3 separate regions of the Homo sapiens genome follow, and all the other regions are linked to region 1. Evidence: promoter capture Hi-C in 16 types of primary human blood cells and fetal thymus (Javierre and others, 2016). All regions are on one chromosome and are shown on one strand. Each heading gives the region's core, a stretch centred on a gene start or on the middle of the fragment in contact. The rest is flanking DNA. Distances are from core to core; before and after follow the strand shown.

Region 1 (2,798 bases), core at 98-2,597:
GATTGATCCCTTTGTTCCGGGCTCAGACTTTCTGGACCCCAGTCCGACTGAGCCAGTGATCACCTTAATAATAAAGGGTTGTCCTGAATTCTGTTTGGCCTCTCCCGTCTCTATTTGTCCCGCAACACTAGCAGTATATCCTCAGGCAATTAACTTTTTTTTCCCTTGTTTCTCTCTCTGTAAAAAGGAAGAGGAATACTTATTTTGGCAGGTTATAATAAGAATTGAGTCAAACTCATTTATGTTGGCATAAAAAAATGAACAAGAAAATATAAAGCACTTAGTACAATGCCAGGCAGATCATAGGAACTCAGTAGATGGCAATTGTAATATTACAAAAGGTGATGGAAGTCAAAGACAATTTACTGTACCTCAAGAGAGTAGCGGTAGGATCAGAAGAATTTCCCAAATGTGTTCACAGACCAAAACTGGGGGAAAAGCAGGGTAGTTTCCTGGTAAGACGAACAGCACATGACAAGGCAGAGATATTAAAAAGTAAGGTACGCTTCCAGGACGAGTTCATTATTCCTGAAGGGAGAAGGCAATAAGGGTGGAAAAACTGGGCCGAGAGGGGAATCCAGGTTGGTGATGCCCCTGGAGGGCAGGTAATTCTTACTAATTTCTGTATTTTCTGCTGCTGGCACAAAACGTGACCCATACGTTTGCAACAAATGGTGAAATAATTCATTCCTGTTGTTAAGCAATAGGGTTGTAGAAATATTTGAGCAGTAAACATGCTACAGTGAAAGGATTCTCGGATTTGGAGTCAGGAGACCTGAAGCACTCTTTTGACTAATGACCTGTGTTTTTTTACTGGTTTTACAACTTACCTGCTGCCTGGCCTTACCAAAGTACTGATATATTGAGTCTCTTGACCCATAAAACAGGGGTAACAACTAACAAGCGATTATTAAAGAGTTGGCGCTAGTAAAGTACGCAATAAAAACAGCGGCTGCAGCTGCTAAATTCTCCTTTAGGTCTTTTTCCATACTTGCGAAATGACAGGGCAACAAATTTCCTTCCAACCACCACTGAGAAAGTATACCACGTTTGCCCAAGGACAAAAAGGCCCCGCCCGGCCCGCGCCACACAGGTCACCTACGCAGAATGCAGTCCTGGGGGGTTCCACTTGTGTCGCTCAGCGATGGAGGGCGCGATCGATGACAGGCCACTCCAGAGACGGACCTAGATAGGTTCGCATGAGGCCGAGCCGAATTTCACCAAAAACCAGTTTACACCACCTCCCGATTTGTCCACACGAAAAGCCATGGAATAGCTGAGGGAAAGGAAACCGGAAGTAGCGTGGGCCGTGAGGAACGGGAAATGACCTCAGCACGTCGGAAGTGTACTCGTTTCCAAGGCGACGGCCCTGCTGCCTCTCCAGCCAAGTGGCTGGAGTCGGGAGGCTGGAAAGAGACTCCGAGAAAGTACCAGCGGAAGGCGGCCGCCGCTACGGCGATTCGCAGGGAGTAGCAGACGAAGACGGTGGCCGCCGCACTAGCCACCACGTGTGGAGGATAAACGGTCTACACGGCCATTCCGGCGCCGAGTCTAGGGAAAGAGTTAGCGACGACGGGGAAAGAAAATGTGAAGAGAGCGACCGCCGCTCCAGGGTCGCTGCAGGAAGCCTAAGTGCAGACGCCGGCTTCTCCCGCAGTGACTTGAGAAGGGTCAGTGAAAACCTCGGCCACTGCCGCAGCGTCTCTAGGGAGAGAGTTAGGGGAGATAGTGGCCACAGTCACAGCTGCTCTTGGGAGAGAGTTAGGGGAGACAGCACCTTCTGCAGCAGCGACGTGAATTTTAGTGAAGTTGGAGGCCACCAAACTACCGACTCCAGGGGAACAGCCAGAGAAGACCGAGGCCTCCGCCTCAGTGGTCCTTGGGAGGGAGTCAGTGACATTCGGGACCCGCGAACTAGTGACTTCGGGGATAGAGTCAGTGACGATCGCAGTCGCCGCTTCAGTGGCTCCTGGGAGGGAGGGAGTGTCGAAGGCGGCCACAGCGTTGGTAGTTCTTGGGAGGAAGTAAGTGGAGACCGCGGCTACGCAGCCAGCGACTCCTCTGGTGTGAGCGGCAGTGAAGACGCCAGCTACCGCTTCAGTGGCTTTTGGGAGAGAGAAAGTGAAGACGAAGGTTTCCGCTGCAGCTTCTGGGAGAGAGCAAGAGAGGACCTTGGGCCCCGTCCTAGTGACGACGGAGAAGAGGGCCGCTGCCGCTGCAGTGGCTCGTGGGTGAGAGCAAGTGAAGACCGCCGCAGCATCAGGGGCCTGGACTCAACTCCTCCCCAGAGTCGGAGGTGTTGCGCCATGCCCGGGGTGGCCAATTCAGGCCCCTCCACTTCCTCTAGGGAGACTGCAAACCCCTGTGAGTCAGACTGTCATTGGCCTTCATCTCTGTCGTATTCCTTTTCTCACTTAAGCCCGCAACAGCCTTAGCCCTTTCTGGCATTTCCTTTTCTCAGCCGTCACTCCCCCCTTTCCCTTTTTAATTTATTTTCAGGGGATACCAAAGCTGTTCAGCTCTCCCCTGTTCTGTATTATTTCCGCTTTCTTTCCTTTTTTCCATCCACACTATTCCTCCGAGTCTTCTTGCCCAGCTTGACATCAACTCTTGTTCAGTCTTAATGGACGGACCCTTTTAAGTTCTTCCTTGACTTCCCTGCAGCATTTGACCCTGTGGAGGTGACAAATTAGTACTTACTTAGTTTTCTTCTTTCACTCCATTGAGTGACCCTTTCCCTTACCGTTTTCTTTTCTTCTGCCATCTTCTTAAATGCAGCTTTTACCCCTTGATGATGC
Region 2 (2,798 bases), core at 172-2,671, 55 kb before region 1:
AGTTTCAGAGTCAGTGAGTGTTTAGTTCTAGATCAAGAGGTTGGAAGTGAAGTGTTGTCTTTTGGATAGGTAGAACCCAAATCAGAAAGAGTCAAAATAGTATAATTAGCACCAGGCAGGGAGAAGGCATAGGATAATTAAAGAAGGAATACAGAGGAGGAAGACCTGTGAGACAGAAAGAGGACTAGATGCAAAACATAACCTGTGTAACAGAATGTTCATTTTTAGCTGGGCCCGTTGCTACCCATCTTAAAAAATAATAATAACAAAAAATGATAACAAAGAAAAACCCTATTCTTCAAGTTTCCCTTGTAGCTAGGTAGGGCCACAAGCAATTAGAAATGATATATGATTCTTACATCTCTCTCTTTTTTTTTTTTTCCTGAGACGGAGTATCTCTCTGCACTCAGGCCGGAGTGCAGTGGCGTGGTCTCAGCTCACTGCAACCTCCGCCTCCTGGGTTCAAGCAATTCTCCTGCCTCAGCCTACTGAGTAGCTAGGATTACAGGCGTGCACCACCACGCCCGGCTAATTTTTGTATTCCATGTGGACCAGTCTGGTCTTGAACTCCTGACCTCATGATCTGCCCACCTAAGCCTCCCAAAGTTCTGGGATTACAGGTGTGAGCCACCGCGCCCGGCCGATCCTTACATCTCTTTAAAAGGAAGAAGGCCCACCCTTCTTTATTTCTCCATCCTGCTGTCTAGATGATGATAGGATTCCTGGAGTTCCAGCATCTGTCCTGGAACATAAGGATTAAAGCCACCTGTTAAGGATGTGGACTAGAGAGAAGGGGCTTGGGCCTCTGATAGTCTGATAACTTGCCATAACCATCTATCTCAAGACTTCTTTTACATGAGAAATAAATTCTGCATTGTGTAAGTCTCTCCTGTATTGGATTTTTCTGTTATGTGTAGCCAAACTAATCTTGAATAATGTATTTCCAGAGCTGATCTTCTCTGTGGTGGTGGCAGGTACCTCTTTACAAAACCCTTATCAACCCCTAACGTATTATTTTTTATTTTTTACTGCCTGTTTCTTCCCACTAGACTTTTTAAGGACAGGGACTTTTCTTGGCTTTTTGTATCCCCAGCTCCTTGAACAGTGCTCACCATATAGTAGGGGTTCAGTAAATATTTTCTAAATAAATGAATGGTGCCAGGAACTGCAAACTGCAGTTTGCACTGCAAGGAGTGGGCACTGCTGATTCAAAAGAGTCACATTAGGAAGTATAACTTTTGCACCCATTAGTGTATAATGAAACACTGAATTCATACTGTCTTATACTTCTATGCCTTTGCATGAACTGTTCATATTGCCAAGAATGTCTTTTCCCCCTTGCCCACCAGACACACTACTACTTATTTCTAAAGTTTTCCCTTAATCATCACCTTCTCCAGGAGACTCTACCCCAGTCACCACAAGTAGAGCCGATCTTTCTTTTACTCAACTCTATATCCAATTCTTAATTGAATTATAGCACTTAGCATGCTACATTACAACTAATTGTTTGTATGTCTGCCTCTTAGACTGGATTCTGGGACCTGAAGGGTAAAGTATATGACTTACTTAACTCTGTGTTCTTAGGACCTAGCCTAATGCCTGGCTAATGGTCAGACTCGGTGTATGTTTGCCAAGTTCTTAGTAAGATCACAGATCTGAGGATGTGGTTTGAATCTGCTAGTGGGAAATAAAAACTGTAAAGGCACTTTTGGATTACATGTTTAGTGGGAAATAAAAGCTCAAGCTGCGCTGCACCAAGAGAAGGACAACCTGGATTCTGGTCCCAGTCCTGGAGCTTCCTACCCAGCAACCGTAGCCCCTTTGAACATCTGACGCCTCATCTATAAATTGGGACATAAAGACCTCACAGGGCTGTTGTGAAGCTCAAGTCAACAACTGTGGACAAAAGCTCTTTTTGTAAACTATACTATTAGGCAAGAACAAATTTAAAACTGTCCAAGTGGAGAGTTTGTCCTTTTTAAGACAACAATAATCCCCGTAAAATTCTCCTCCCAGTTCTCGAGGCACGTAGATAAATATGCAGTAGTTTTGGTCTGCTCTCCATTCTTAGATCTTGAAAGAGCCTCTGTGAAGCTGGAGCAGCTTTCAAATTTTGAAGTCAGTCTTCTTGAATCAGTCTTCTTCCCTTTGACATAGCTTGTCATAGGGATTCGTATGTATTTAGTATTAATATTTACAATAAGGCCTTTCCCTCCCCTTTGAAAATTCTACGCCAAACAACAGCCAAAATCTGAGGCCTTTTTGTCCTTGAAACTTGGGCTAAATGGCTCCAGCATGTGGAAGACTCCTCCTCTCAGCCTCTCAAAATTGTGTCTCTTCAGAGTATGATAAGAGACATAGCTGGCCGCAGTGGTTAATGCCTGTAATCCCAGCACTTTGGGAGGCCAAGGCAGGCAGATCACTTGAGGTCAGGAGTTCGAGACCAGCCTGCCCAACATGGCTAAATCCCTTCTCTATTAAAAATATGAAAATTAGCCAGGCATGGTGGCTCACCTGTAACCCCAGCTACTTGGGAGACTGAGGCAGCAGAATCACTTGAACTCGGGAGGCGGAGGTTGCAGTGAGCCAAGATCGAGCCACTGTACTCCAGACCGGGCGACAGAGCAAGACTACATCTCAAAAAAAAAAAAAAAAAAAGGAAAGAAAGAAAACGAAAAAAAAAGAAAGAAACAGCATCACACTCATTTTGTTTTGCTCTGATCTTTTGAGTCTTACTTTGATTTGCTCTAGTAGGCTAAAGAATTTAACAACTCAGCCAATGGATTCTGAGTTCT
Region 3 (2,798 bases), core at 88-2,587, 33 kb before region 1:
GGTTGTGTGTTTTAAACAAAAGTCTTTAAGTGACTTGGGTTCATTCTTCTTTAGGTTCCATCCACTCTTTTGGGTAAACCTCTTCACAAGATACACGGTTTCAGGTGGTCCTTTCATAATTTAAAGAGGACGAAAAGGAAGGGTTTTTTTTCTTTTTCCTTTTAAGGACCTCAACAAGTTTATCATGCTCAGTCTGACAGCTAAGATACAAGTTTTCGTTCACTTTTTCCTGTGAAAGTGTATGTAAAACAGCTTTTTTTTTTAAGTGTGAGATTTAAAAAGGAAGCATTCGTCATACTCAACATGCTTTTTATTGATACCACAAACATCTTGGACATGAAAACTTAGTTTTTGCCTTGTTGAAGGCTTAACTTGACATTAAATGCCTTAAAGCACTTGTGTTTTTAAGGCAAAAACATTGATTTTTAAAATCTAATTACCTCGTATCTTGGGATTTAATATTCCACAGCGCCTAATATTTAGCAGCTCAGGTTGTCACTCAAAGAACCTTGCTGGTTTTTAATGGATCCGGAAGACCTTCGAGAACCGAAAACTAAATGCTGAATATAGTGACCACATAAAACTTGTGTTTGTATATCGCTACACAGTGATGAAAATAGATGAGCTCTTTGCTGGTAAAAGACAGCTGAAATTTTGGGGGCACACGTTTCCTGGTTATTTTTGTAAAGCCAGGTTGAGGAAAAGATGTAAAAGTCACTTTGGGGGATCTATCTTAATCTGGGTTGGGATCGAGGGTGAGGGGAGGGATTTCCGTTATTTGGTAGCAAACTGGCCTGGTTTTGTGTTTTGGAGGTGAATGTTTGTGTCCTTATTCTTTAGCTTCTCTGCGTTACTAAACTTAAAGGATTCACACTTAATTTGACTCCTCCCAAGAGAGAGCAGTAGCGAAAAATAATACATAAAAGGACTTCACTTGTACAATAAAAAATTAGCCTACTTAACAGACTTTGGTGTTTAAGAGAGCCTGTTTATCTTCATAAGTACAATAATGACTAAAATGGTGTAAAACATGACATGGTAAGGTAAAGACACAGCAGTAAACCATTTGACATGTTCGTACTTAATATAGTTGACCCACATGCAGTGGGTGAACCCTTTTATTAGACAGTACCTTAAAAGAAATTTTTCATACAAAGTTATTCAAAGCTTCCCTTAGCCAACTTTTGGTTGTAAAGGTGTTATCAGAAGCAAGAGCATTTCCACACACTTGTATGGGCAATTGGTTTTATTATATATGATGGCATTGTGTACTCCAGAACTGTGAGCCTACCCTAGCTTCAGGCAGCTATGGGTAAGTGTTACTTAGGGTTAAGATTCCTATACACGTGGGGTGGGTAAATGGGGATAACCTAAGTTTTTTTTTTTTTTTTTTTTTTGTCTTTTTTTTTTATTTTAAATCATGGGTGCTCCTTTGGAGTCAGAGTTAAAACTATTATGGTGTGTCTTAATGCTCCTCAACAAGTCTGTGAACCTGCTGATGCTTTCTGGAAGCTTGCTGTGCCTTCTAAAAGCCAGTGGTGGGTAGGCATTGCAGTTGAACTGGGGCAACATTTCTTTACTTTGGAAAGGGCCACCTGTATCAGCATCACCACACTGGCTCTGCACAAATTTATAACCCCTGGTTTGTGCATGTCAGAGGAAAATATCTCGGCGGAGAGTCCAGGCTGTGAAGAAAATCTTCAGGACAAATCCTGGTTTCCAGAGTCAAGTTCAACCTGATTTACATGATTCAGCGGCTGCTCCATCCAGTTTTTCTTGTCTGAGTAACAAACTTGCAACTTCCTGCATGTTCGTGTGCAAGTTTCAGTGTTTTGCCATTGACTTCCTAGGTGAAGTGTTTTTAATTTTTGTTCATTTGGATTATAGAGAAGTAATCCTAATGATTTTACAGGTAACAAAAGCTTCATAGACTTGAACATATAAAATATGCCCATGGAAATTAGTTTCTACAAGAGGTCTAAAAACTGCTTTGAGTGTAGGCACACCGTTGTAAGTTAATATGGGTCACAAAACTGACACTTGGATTATATAAAGTAATTTTCCCTCGCCTCCTCCTTATTTTTGTCACTTAAAACACAGGTCTTTTTACCACATGAACTTGAAATTTCATTGAGTGTTAAATGAGTATATTAGGGATTACAGCTGTTGTTCATCCTGGTAATTCTGAGCTTTTTTGTGCTCAACTAAGGATTGTGAGAGTTGAGAGCTTGATTGAACACTTAAGTTTCATAAAGATTACTTCAAAAATATTTAGTATCAACAAAAATAGAGGTCTGTATTGTAGGTTTAAAAACTCATTTTTAAATAATTATTTGGTGGTAATTCATTATACTAAACTTCTCAGTTTCTTTTTATTCAGGCTCCTTCCTCAGAGAAGCTTCCTGTTATGTACCTTATGGATTCTATTGTGAAAAACGTTGGAAGAGAGTATCTCACTGCCTTTACTAAAAATCTAGTTGCAACATTTATTTGTGTGTTTGAAAAGGTACATATGCATTTAGAAACATTTGCGTTTTTTTTTAAAAAATGTGTTCCTGATTAAATAAATATTTGCTTTGTGTTGGGTTTTCTTGGGTGGTGAAATGTTTTATACTTTTGGACATTTATCGTTAGTACCATTTCAAAGAAAGAGGCTGAAGTTAATGTTTTATGTTAGATTTTTAGAACAGATTCTAGGGGTTTACATTATCCATTTAAGAATAGATGGATTTGCTTTTAGAATTGTGCTTTTTAAAAAAATTGAGTGTGTTCATTTGAACATCTGTTTCATCACTTAC

Evidence for each region. Contacts are between HindIII fragments. The CHiCAGO score rates a contact against its expected background, and 5 or more counts as called.
Region 2: a contact is called between a fragment that was not itself captured here and the fragment with the promoter of ANKRD42 in region 1, in 1 of 17 cell types (neutrophils). The highest score is 5.9, in neutrophils.
Region 3: a contact is called between a fragment that was not itself captured here and the fragment with the promoter of ANKRD42 in region 1, in 9 of 17 cell types (monocytes, total CD8 T cells, fetal thymus and 6 more). The highest score is 12.0, in monocytes.

Annotation. Positions count from the first base shown.
Region 1 is chr11:83,192,365-83,195,162 of GRCh38, forward strand. ANKRD42 (ankyrin repeat domain 42) reads left to right here and starts at 1,348. Exons shown (of 11, transcript NM_001300975.2): 1 at 1,348-2,364. The coding sequence starts at 2,307. It overlaps ANKRD42-DT (ANKRD42 divergent transcript), which reads right to left and starts at 1,305. Exons shown (of 3, transcript NR_149009.1): 1 at 1,103-1,305. RefSeq lists enhancers at 1,055-1,274, 1,335-1,444, 1,965-2,324 and a silencer at 1,579-1,757. The HindIII fragment of the contact is 14,061 bases long and covers 1-2,798 here.
Region 2 is chr11:83,137,633-83,140,430 of GRCh38, forward strand. No RefSeq gene overlaps it. Among named protein-coding and RNA genes, the nearest start is that of PCF11, 18 kb to the right of the region's middle. The HindIII fragment of the contact is 5,535 bases long and covers 1-2,798 here.
Region 3 is chr11:83,158,947-83,161,744 of GRCh38, forward strand. It overlaps PCF11 (PCF11 cleavage and polyadenylation factor subunit), which reads left to right. Exons shown (of 16, transcript NM_001346413.3): 2 at 2,381-2,506. Among named protein-coding and RNA genes, the nearest start is that of PCF11, 3.2 kb to the left of the region's middle. The HindIII fragment of the contact is 345 bases long and covers 1,166-1,510 here.